4 separate regions of the Homo sapiens genome follow, and all the other regions are linked to region 3. The links are contacts of gene promoters, found by promoter capture Hi-C in blood cells and fetal thymus (Javierre and others, 2016). All regions are on one chromosome and are shown on one strand. Each heading gives the region's core, a stretch centred on a gene start or on the middle of the fragment in contact. The rest is flanking DNA. Distances are from core to core; before and after follow the strand shown.

Region 1 (2,700 bases), core at 62-2,561, 1.7 Mb before region 3:
CTCTGTTTTAACCCTAAAAGGAAAGTAACTTTGAAATGAGTAATCCTCTTTTTTTTTCCAGCTCTTTTCTACCTATAAAGCCCATGTCCTCTGTTCAGCTCATTGGAACATTCTGTTTTATAGAATTAGGTGTTGCCTGATTCTAGAAGTGCTAATAAAAGCCAATAAGATCACTCAACTACATTTGTTGTAATTTTGTCTTTGGCCTATATATACGTACATATGCACCGTGGAGAATGAATGTACTTCTTTATGAGGTCAAAAAAATTTGAAAGCTGCTTAGAGCTCTTAGGGGACCTCTGGAGGCTTCATGGGCATAGGCAGGGCTGTACTTGAACTTCAGGCACTCTGAGCTAGGGAGAGAAGAATGGACACCATTGTTACATTTTAGTCATTCAACAGATTTATTGAGCCCCTGCCAATGTGCCAGGCCTTAGACACTGGGGATACAACAGTCAAGAAGAACAAAGTCTACTTTCATGCACAAATAAAATGCAACAAATGGATATGTAATATAATGTCAGTAATGATAAGGGCTATGAAAAAGATTCAAGTATTACAAGAAAAAGAGCATGATGGAGGTGCTGGTGTAGAAAGGATGGTGTAGAAGTCCTCTCAGGTAAGTGGCACTGGAAGAAGCAAGGCATGAAAACATCTGGGGAGGAGATTTCCAGACAGAGGACTAGCAAGTGCAAGATGTCTTTCTGTACCATGAACTCTGCTCCCCAATCTTCAAAGAACCTCACACGATTTACAATGTGTGAAAAACTGCTACAAATATACTTACAGGTCCTCACACATAGGTTAAAGCATTCATTAGCTCCCACTATATGATACAAGCTGGAACATATTTATTTTACAAAATTGGGATTATGTGTACAACCTGCTCTCTAACCTGCCCTTTCACTTGCTCATTTATAACATTTGGCTTGGATCTTTTTTAAAAAACTTTAAAAAAAAAATAACTTCTGGGCCAGGTGTGGTGGCTCACACCTGTAATCCCAGCACTTTGGGAGGTCGAGGTGGGTGGATCGCAAGGTCAGGAGATCGAGACCACCCTGGCTAACACAGTGAAACTCTGTCTCTACTAAAAATACAAAAAAAAGAAAGAAATTAGCTGGGTGTGGTGGCAGATGCCTGTAGTCCCAGCTACTCGGGAGTCTGAGGCAGGAGAATGGCATCAATCCGGGAGGCAGAGCTTGCAGTGAGACGAGATTGCACCACTGCACTCCAGCCTGGGCGATAGAGCGAGACTCCGTCTCAAAAAAAAATAAAAATAAAAATAAAACAAAAAAAACTTCTGTAGAGACCTGAGTCTTTTTATGTTGCCCAGACCGGTCTCAAATTCCTGGCCTCAAGTGATCCTCCCACCTTAACCTCCCAAATTGTTGAGATTACAGGTGTGAGCCACCAGGCCTGGCCTAAACTTTTTATTTTAATGAACATTTTGGAAAGTCTTTTGGAAAGGACTATTCTTCCCTAGCCTTTACTTTCCCTCAGGCCTGCTCCTCGGTGTCAGGCCCAGCCTTTTCTGCCTGCCTGGTGGGGCCCTGGCCTGGCCCAGCCCAGCCCCCTTCTGCCTGGGCCTGTGTCCATTCCTCCTTCCTTCTCAGACACTGATCCAATATCTCTGGTGCCAGGGCTGGAAGTCATCTGACTGGGGTTTGCATGGTTTCCAGGAACAGCAATAAGACTACCAATACTGTGGCTTCTTTTCCTCCTGGGGTGTTTTCACAGTACAGCCAGCTTTAACTGTCACTTTTAAGAGGGATTTGGCAGCCTGCCATGCAGACAAATTCAGATCACATGGGTCCTCTATGATGAAGTCCAAGCCTCCCAATGACAGAGTGCTCTCTGCTCAGGCCAGACTAAACTAGATGAGAACAGCTCTCTTCTCCAGAGGGCTCTTCAGACCAGCCCATGTCACAGAAGGGGTGTTATCAATCTGGGCAAGTCCAGGAGAGAACAACCAACTCAGGCCATAAAGAGCCAAAAACTAGGATTATATTTAAATAAGGCAGAGCCACAGGCTGCCGTGGTTTGAACATGTCCCCCAAAGTTCATGTGCTGGAAACTGAATTCCCCTTGTAACAGTGTTGAGAGATGGGACCTTTAAGAGGTGATTAGATCATGAGGGCTCTGATCTCGTGCATGGATTAATGATGTTATTGTGGGAGTGGGTTCCTGATAGAAGGATAGGTTTGTCCCCTTCCCTCACTACTCCTGCATTCTCACCATGTGATGTCTTCCACCATGTCATAATGCAGCAAGAAGGCTCTCACCAGATGCAGCCTCTCGATCTTGGACTTCCCAGTCTCCAGAACCATGAGCCAAATACATTTCTGTTCATAATAAATTACCCAGTCTGTAGTATTCTGTTACAGCAGCACAAAATGGACTAAGACAAAGGCACTGGTAGTGTAAAGTTGAGGGGATGTGAAGTGAGGAGCCAGGAGAGGTCGATATGAAATTATGTTGCTTATACCCATAGCATTCTATCATGTCCTAACGGTCTGTCATGACTGTCTTTCCCTTGTAATCTTTGTTCAAAAATATTCAATGGCCATCTACTCTGTGCTAGCCCTACACTGTTCAATACCATAGCCACTAGGCCCATGTGGCTATTTAAATTTAAATTAATTAAAATAAATAACATGTAAAATTCAGTTCTTCAGTTGCACTAGCTACATTTCAAGTGCT
Region 2 (2,700 bases), core at 84-2,583, 1.1 Mb before region 3:
ACCACACCCAGCTAATTTTTGTGTTTTTAGTAGTGACGGGGTTTCACCAGGTTGGCCAGGCTGGTCTCGAACTCCTGACCTTAGCTGATCCACCCACCTCGGCCTCCCAAAGTGCTGGGATTACAGGCATGAGAAGCTACCTTCTCCACTGAGAGCTGCAGAGACAACCTGTCTGCAGAGGGGAGCCACCCTCTCCAGGGCCTCCTCTCTACTGAGAACTGAACACTGGACACATGACCTGCCTACAGAGAGGAGCTGCCCACTCTGGGTCTCCTCCAAGCTGTTGTAACACTAAATAAAGCTCTTTGTCTTGTTCACCTTTCACTTGTCTGTGTACCTTCTTCTACCTGGACACAGGACAAGAACTCGGGCAAAGGTGCTGTGACCACAGAGGTTTCTGGCCAGAAAATTGACACCCCAAAGATCCCATACACATTCAGTCCATAATACATAAGATCAATTATCACAGAATAGTAGGATATTTTTAACTTTGTCATAAATTATATGTATTGCAAATTGTATTATCTTAATACAATATATTTGTTACTAGAGAATCAGTATCAAGCTTCACTTATGTTACTTATAAACCTATATATATATACACACAAATATAACAGGAATTATCAAATATTTAATATTGCAGAAATAGTTCCTTAGCCAACAGTGCAACTGTTGTGAATAGTGAACTAATTCTGACGAGCTCCAGAATCACAAATGAGAATAAGGAAAACAGGAAAATGGACTCTCACTAAAGGGAAACAATTCTCGGTTGTGCACAATTCCACTGAATTCCTCTGATCTGAGAGGAGGTATTTGGAAGTTAATAATTTGCCTTTTCTCTTACCTAAGTTCTGCTGCTCAACAATTCCCGGCACTAAAATGCACTGTCCATTTCTGACCTCGACAGAGGCATAACTCGTAAACCTTCACAGCAGTCCAACCCAGCCGCCTTTCTTTCAAGAACACAGGGCAAGAGGTGTTTCCACAGGGTATAAATGGTGTTAGTCACAGAAGCAGACGTTCAAAGTTCCAGGTTGTTCTGTGCCAGAGCCAAATGCCAGATCCCAAGCACAGAAGTTCTCATCTGTCCTTTAACAAATTTATGTGCTCGCGTGTGTGTACTGGATCCTCTAAAATGTGGCGGCAAGAGTCCCTCCTGTTTGCTTAGGTCTATGGGCAATACTGAGCCTAATGAAGCCCAAATGACTTCATACTGTGCTATATAAATGAAGAGTTTATAATCTTTTGAATAGAGGAATCTGGTGGGAGAACTGAGGTACCATGGGGCATGCAGTGATATAGGCAAGCAAACCCAAAGAAATGCATGCCGTCGCTAAGGGCATCCTCTTTACACTGTGAATAGCGATTGCATTTGCCAAAACATCAATTGTCACATAAAATGTATTAGCTAGAATGTGTCTGTTTTGTGGGTTTGGTTGTGTTTAAGTTGTAAACCTAAATTCCAAACAATTCTTAATTTTGAGAAACATCATCATATTTATTTTGGAAATCTTATAAAGGTGAATAATCTTCATATGCAGACACAGGACTAGTGTTGACTGACAACTGTTAGAAATGGATGATCAAAACTTATCATTTCTGTTGCCAATTACTAAAAGATTTCTCAAAATAAAGCCGGGCATGGTGGCTCACGCCTGTAATCCCAGCCCTTTGGGAGGCTGAGGCAGGCAGATCACCTGAGGTTGAGAGTTCAAGACCAGCTTGGCCAACATGGTGAAATTCCATCTCTACTAACAAATACAAAAACTAGCTGGACGTGGTGTTGCATACCTGTAATCCCAGCTACTAGGGAGGCTGAAGCAGAAGAATCGCTTGAACCCAGAAGGCGGAGGCTGCAGAGAGCCAAGATTGCACCACTGCATTCCAGACTAGGTGACACAGCGAGACCCTGTCCCAAAAAAATTAAAGATAAAATAAAAAAATTTATCAAAATAGATGATTTCTTTTAAAATGTTCTAGGAGAACTACATACTAAAAAGAAGCTACATAAGTGGCAGCAAGAGAGACAAGCATGTTATTAATTCAGAGCTACAGTCCCACATTTAAGTATTAGAAGGTAGATACTGAGCAGGAAGCTTCCTTTCCAACAATGGTGAGGGGGCCTCTCTGAACCTATTCTGATTCAGGGGCTGCCCAATACAAAACTAAAGATTTTTTTAAAATTTAAAAATAAAGGGAAAATACCTGTAAAATACTGCATTTTAAGCTCTTCTAAGAGGCAATATTAGCTAATGTCAATGCAAAATGTTATCTAACTTGTCTTTTCATCCACACTGCCCAACATGGTGCCTTGCACGTAGAAAGCCCTTAATAAGAAAGCAAATTGCAAAAGGATATACGGTTGACCCTTGAACATCATGGGCTTGAACCATGTAAGTCCACTTATACAGGGATTGTTTTACAACCAACTGCAGATTGATGCTACAGTGTTCATAGTATGCAAAACCCGCGTGTATATACAGAGGGCTGACTTCTATACGTGAGTTCTTCAGGGCTGACTAACAGACTTGAATATACTCGGATTTTGGTATACGAGAGGCTCCTTGAATCAATCTCCCACATGTACCAAGAGATGACTATGTATATATATATAGATAGATAAATAGCTCTCTCTCTCTCTATATATATATATATATGGTGTATATATGTATATAGTATTTATATGTATATATTATGTCA
Region 3 (2,700 bases), core at 136-2,635:
AAAATTTTGCCTCGGGAAAAAAAAAAAAAGGCTAGAAAAGAAATACTTTACAACTACAATCGCTGACGCATTAGTATGATGGGGCCCTTCAAGCAGTAATACCACCATCAAGTACGATTTATACTTCGTGATGTCCTAGATGGTTTGATTTTTTGCAGTAGTAGAAGAAAACAGCATCGGGCTAAATCTCTCATCCCCACAAGACTCAATAAAACCTGTCAAATGAAATACAAATACATATTCACAAAATATTTCCTACTAGAAATTCTCAGAGTTTTGTACCCAAGTCATTAAGCACCTATTTATGGATCCTATGGAAAGGGGGGCGGTTCGCACACTTATCATTTAATCCCCATAATAACTCTGAGAGGAGGTATCATGGCCTTAATTTTGCATATGAAGAAACAGCTATTTCAACATAATAAGTCACTATCCAAGGTCATACAGGGGTGTCACAGCAAAGACTCACATCCAGCCTTTTGACTGGTGTTCATTGTTCTTCTCAGTGTTTTCTTAGTTCCTTAAACCCAAACTAAGCGTCACCATTAACACTATTTCCAGAAACCAATTTTCTGTCATATCAAACTGATGCGATCACAGTTGTCACTTGATATTCGAGACTTTCCCTGTTGTGGGCTACCCCAGATCCTACTAATAATGATCACCCTGCTTTTCGAATGTGAAATGCACGTTATTAAAATATTTTCACGAAATCGTAAGATGGCCAAAGTTTTGCATAACAATGTCACAAAAAGGAAGAGGGCAAGGAGGCTAGCTGTGCCCCCCAAGGCCCCGTGGGGCCGACTCGGCTCTTTCACAGGGCCACGTGGGAAACGTGAGTATCTTAAAGGTCGCGGTGGTGGCTGTGCTCAGTTTCGGGGTCACAGAGGCCCACGCTCCGCGGACCGGGGTCGGAAGGCGCCGTGGGCTTCCCGCGGCCAGTCTTCGAAGCCCCTCCACGCCCGCAGGCCTCACCTTGAGTGTCTCGTAGGCGGTTGCCACCAGCAGGAAAGCCTCCTCGGCGCTCTGCGGCGTCCGCCCGGGGCCCTCGTCTCCGGGCTGGGGCCGGTAGCGGTCAGGGTGGTAGCGCCGGGCCAGCTGGCGGTAGGCCCGCGCGATCTCCGCCTTGCCCGCCGAGCGGCTCACGCCCAGCACCTCGTAGCAGTCCCGCGTGCCGCAGTAGAGCCCCTCCACCAGGGCCCCCGCGGGCCGCACCAGCAGCAGCGCCGGCAGCAGGGGCGCCAGCAGCATCCACCAGCGCCGGCCGGCAGCCCCGGCTCCCCAGCCGGGAGAGAGCAGCGGCGCCCCCATCCCCAGCCTCGCTGGCGGCTCTGCCACCCCAGCGATTCTGCAGCACTCAGCCGCGCGCCCGGCTAGTCCCGTCTGGCCCCAGCTACACGTCAGCAGCCGACGCCTCCGCGCAGGCGCACAGGGCGCGGCTACAGCAACTACTTCCTTCGCAACCCGTTGGTAGGGAGAAGGACGCCTCAGCCACTAGGCTGCTTCCGGTGTGTCACTGAACACCTTCCCCGTACCAGCAGCTGGAGGATTTGTTTGGTAGCACCTGGGGGATGGCTCTGTCCCGGGCGCACTTAGGCGGGCTGTGCGGAGCGCTTTACCTTCCACAGTGTCCGGCACACGCATCCTTTTCGACATCATCACTTGACCTGCTGCAATAGGTAACCTACCTGGCTCTCTCGCATCCCGTTATCAGCGTCAAGAAGATTTGCACGTAGGCCTTTAAAGCCAGCCACCAGCCCCGGGCGCCTTCCTCTCACTAACCCCATGCTGCCTTTCCAAACGGAAGATGAACTTAGCAATTCTAGGCGCTGCCTGTGTACTAGGTAGGGACCCTGAAAGTTCATAGCCATCTAGTTCAGTTTTTCTCAGCCTCCACGCTATTGACATTTTAGACCAGATAATTCTTTGCCTTTGAGGGGCTGCCCTTTGCATTGTAAGATGTTTAGCAGCATATCTGGCCTCTCCACACTAAATGCCAGTAGTGCCACCACCCCCAGTCATGACAATAAAAAATCTCTGTACGCGGGTCTGTGCGTCCACCTTGGGCTGCGCGTTCCCGGGACAACCTGCTGGAAGGATCAAGCGATCCTTCCAAAATGCTAGGATTACAGGCGTGAGCCACCGTGCCCGGCCTACATTTGAATTTCAGATAATAATTTTTTAGTATAAGTATGTCCAAAATATTGCATGGGACTATATGGCAACATGAAAAACTTTGCCTCAAAAAATCTGTTTCTATCATTCATCTGGTAAATGTTTATTGAGTCTCTACTCTGAGCCGGGCACTGTTACTTAGGCACTGGGGATACAGTGGTGAGCAAAGTAAACAAGAAGCTCAACTTCAGAGAGCATATATTCTGATGGAGGATGACAGTCAGTAACAAATAAATAAACGTTCAGATATAATCAACTCTTTTAATAAAGTGAAATCAAATACTGATACATAGCATTATATACTTATAATACATAATGAATATACATTATAATTTTGTATTTCTCATTGAATAAATATATATCTCTCATTACATATATCTCCCTCATTACATATATAATATATATAATCTCATTACACATATATGTCTCTGTCATTACATATATAACATATATGTGTCTATTTTTCACCTCAGCCCACTAAATATTGCATGGGACTATATAGCAACATATACAGTTATATATGTA
Region 4 (2,700 bases), core at 113-2,612, 1.1 Mb before region 3:
CCATTCCAAACTCAAAGGTTTGCCTAGCCTTACCTGCTAAAAGGTGATGACAGATGTTGACTCTGGGATTCACTAAGGCCTCTACCACAGTTTTCTCTAGAAACAAATAGAAGAGAATGCAGAGGGTTGAAATCTACCCAAAATATCAGTCAGAGACTCTGAGCTTCAAAGACCTTCCCCTATTTCCCCCAATGTAATTTATATAGGGTTGGACCCTTAGTCCTCAAGCTATCATCTTTATCTCCTCCACATAAGCCTGCCTTGGCTGGGAAAAGTAGCATTCAAAGGGCACTGGGAACAATTTTAAATGCTGCATCTAAGGAATGCCAAGTTCTGGTCCTCTTGGAGTTGGATTAAAATTGTTAACACTTTCACATTCAAGGGCTGCTTACAACTACTACAGACCCTATTATCTGTTCTTCTGAATTAGCATGAAAATGAATAGCACAATATAACTAGAAATGAGTATTTCTAGAAATGAGTATATACATCTATAGATGTATAACATCGGTTTTTCTTATTGAATGGTGCTACTTATTTTAACAACCAGGCTGCCTTAAATATAATGGACATCCGTATGGATTAAGACTCTATACAAGCTTTCTCTTTAGTACACCAGGGGAAAGTGAAAAAAGAACCACATTTGAATTCGGCTTTGTCACTACAAGTGGGTGACCATGAGCAAGTTACTAACCTCAGTGAACCTGTTCCTAACCTAAAAAGGAGGAGAATGGAGAGCAGGTAATAATACCTTATGAGATGGTTGTGAGAGTTATATAGCATTCTTTATGTCATAGTCCTAGCAAAGTGCTGGCATAAAATAGGTGCTCCCTAAATGTTAATTACCTACCTTCCTTTCCCTTTCTGTCAGATTTTCTCTACTATTCTTATGAAATAATAAAGAGTTTTTGTAATTAAATATGCTTTACTATTCTGAGTAGGGTCTGGTTGAATATACATATATATACACACACATACACACCAGGTAGGGTGCCTCACACCTGTAATCCCAGCACTTTGGGAGGCCAAGGTGGGAGGATCACTTGAGCCCATAAGTTCAAGACCAGCTTGGGCAACATAGTGAGAGCCCCATCTCTATAAAAAATGTAAAAATTAGTCCGGCATGGTGGCACATACCTGTAGTCCCAGCTACCCAAGAGGCTGAGGTGGAAGGATTGCTTGAGCCTGGGAGGTTGAGGGTGCAATGAGCTGAGATTGCACCACTGTACTTCAGCCTGGGCAACAGAAGGAGACCTTGTCTCAAAATAAAAAAAAATATATATATATATACATATATATGTGTGTGTACATATATATGTGTGTATATGTGTGTGTGTGTGTGTGTGTGTGTATTGACCTCCAAAGTCCTCCATTTGCTCAGTTTAGATTGGAGTACCACTTTTCTATGCTCCCACCAAAAAAAGGACCCAGACCCAGAGTTCCTAAAAGGCCATATGAAATAGTTGATTACAGTTTATTTATTTATTTTCCAGTTTCCTGGTTGGTCGATAGCAGCTGGCCACAATATCCAGTGGGTAGTCATCAAAACTAAAGAAAGTGAATTTGTATGGAAAGTATTTTGGTAGAAAGTTTCCACGATGAAATTTAGCCCAGCCCTGCCCATTCATATTCACCATTTCCTGTGGTATTTCAGTGTTCCTTGTGGTGGGAAATTGTCACTGAAATAATATAAGTGTCCCAGAGCATGTGACTTTGCTTCTACTAAAAGGTTTTGTTTTTTTTTTTTTTTTTTCTTGGAGACAGGGCCTTGCTCTGTCGCCCAGGCTGGAGTGCAGTGGCGCAATCTCAGCTCACTGCAACCTCCGCCTCCCAGGTTCAAGCGATTCTCCTGCCTCAGCCTCCACAGTAGCTGGGATTACAGGTGTGTGCCACCATGCCCGGCTAATTTTTGTATTTTTAGTAGAGACAGGGTTTCACCATGTTGTCCAGGCTGGTCTCAAACTCATGACCTCAAGTGATCTGCCTGCCTTGGCCTCCCAAAGTGCTGGGATTACAGGCTACTAAAAGTTTTAAAAGCAGCATGGTGGTAAGGAGGAAACGTGTAACGTTTCTCCATCAGAGCAGAAGGCTGTGGTGTTTGTTGGAACTTATGGAGGGAAGCTTGGATTTCTAGGGTTGAGCTCTGAGGAAGATAGTAGATGTATGTGTGTGCATGAGGGGCGAGGGAGGTCCCCAATGCCACCAGAACCCAAGAACACAGCATGGAGCCCTCCCAATTCATAAGGAATCTTAGACACTTAGGCTGGCACCTTTCAGGAGACAGGGCTTTGGGCCCCAGAATTTAGTACGCTTACCAAACAAATCCTATCGACCTCACTAGCAAGCGTATTGGGGCTGCCTGTGAGCACCCAGACCTCAGAAACAAAGCAGTCTCAATGCATCATTCGCTCATTCTTTCCCCTGGTACAGCATGTGCTTAGGCCTTCTTCATGTTTGTGTTAGCCGCTTATCCTCTGGTGGTTTTTAGTACAATCATAGCTTTATTCTATATGGCATCCCAAGCCCTGCCTCAGAATAACACCACCACTTCTGAAGTGGACGGCTGGTGAGGACAAAGGACGTTTTCAGAGAGCATTCAGGATGACATGTCGCAAGCCACAGAGGGCTGTATCAAACAAGGGGGGCAAGTGAGAAGGCACAATCCCCAACAGAGACAAAATTGTGTGGACAATTTAATTC

What was found. The method cuts DNA at HindIII sites, captures the fragments that hold promoters and counts their contacts. A CHiCAGO score of 5 or more calls a contact.
Region 1: a contact is called between a fragment that was not itself captured here and the fragment with the promoter of DNAJC25 in region 3, in 2 of 17 cell types (monocytes and total B cells). The highest score is 8.0, in monocytes.
Region 2: a fragment that was not itself captured here is called in contact with the fragment with the promoter of DNAJC25 in region 3 in 1 of 17 cell types (naive CD4 T cells); the score reaches 5.6 in naive CD4 T cells.
Region 4: a contact is called between a fragment that was not itself captured here and the fragment with the promoter of DNAJC25 in region 3, in 3 of 17 cell types (fetal thymus, total CD4 T cells and non-activated CD4 T cells). The highest score is 5.6, in fetal thymus.

Annotation. Positions count from the first base shown.
Region 1 is chr9:113,343,036-113,345,735 of GRCh38, reverse strand. No RefSeq gene overlaps it. Among named protein-coding and RNA genes, the nearest start is that of WDR31, 4.1 kb to the right of the region's middle. The HindIII fragment of the contact is 4,375 bases long and covers 1-2,700 here.
Region 2 is chr9:112,730,382-112,733,081 of GRCh38, reverse strand. No RefSeq gene overlaps it. Among named protein-coding and RNA genes, the nearest start is that of INIP, 14 kb to the right of the region's middle. The HindIII fragment of the contact is 1,531 bases long and covers 568-2,098 here.
Region 3 is chr9:111,630,019-111,632,718 of GRCh38, reverse strand. It overlaps DNAJC25 (DnaJ heat shock protein family (Hsp40) member C25), which reads right to left and starts at 1,385. Exons shown (of 4, transcript NM_001015882.3): 1 at 976-1,385. The coding sequence starts at 1,311. DNAJC25-GNG10 (DNAJC25-GNG10 readthrough) reads right to left here and starts at 1,385. Exons shown (of 3, transcript NM_004125.4): 1 at 976-1,385. The coding sequence starts at 1,311. LOC107987116 (a long non-coding RNA gene) reads left to right here and starts at 1,516. Exons shown (of 2, transcript XR_001746897.2): 1 at 1,516-1,679. RefSeq lists enhancers at 652-701, 1,432-1,521 and a silencer at 1,052-1,341. The HindIII fragment of the contact is 9,325 bases long and covers 1-2,700 here.
Region 4 is chr9:112,747,121-112,749,820 of GRCh38, reverse strand. SNX30-DT (SNX30 divergent transcript) reads left to right here. Exons shown (of 1, transcript NR_186503.1): 1 at 1-937. It also overlaps a transcript of SNX30 not described here. Among named protein-coding and RNA genes, the nearest start is that of SNX30-DT, 2.1 kb to the left of the region's middle. The HindIII fragment of the contact is 1,522 bases long and covers 602-2,123 here.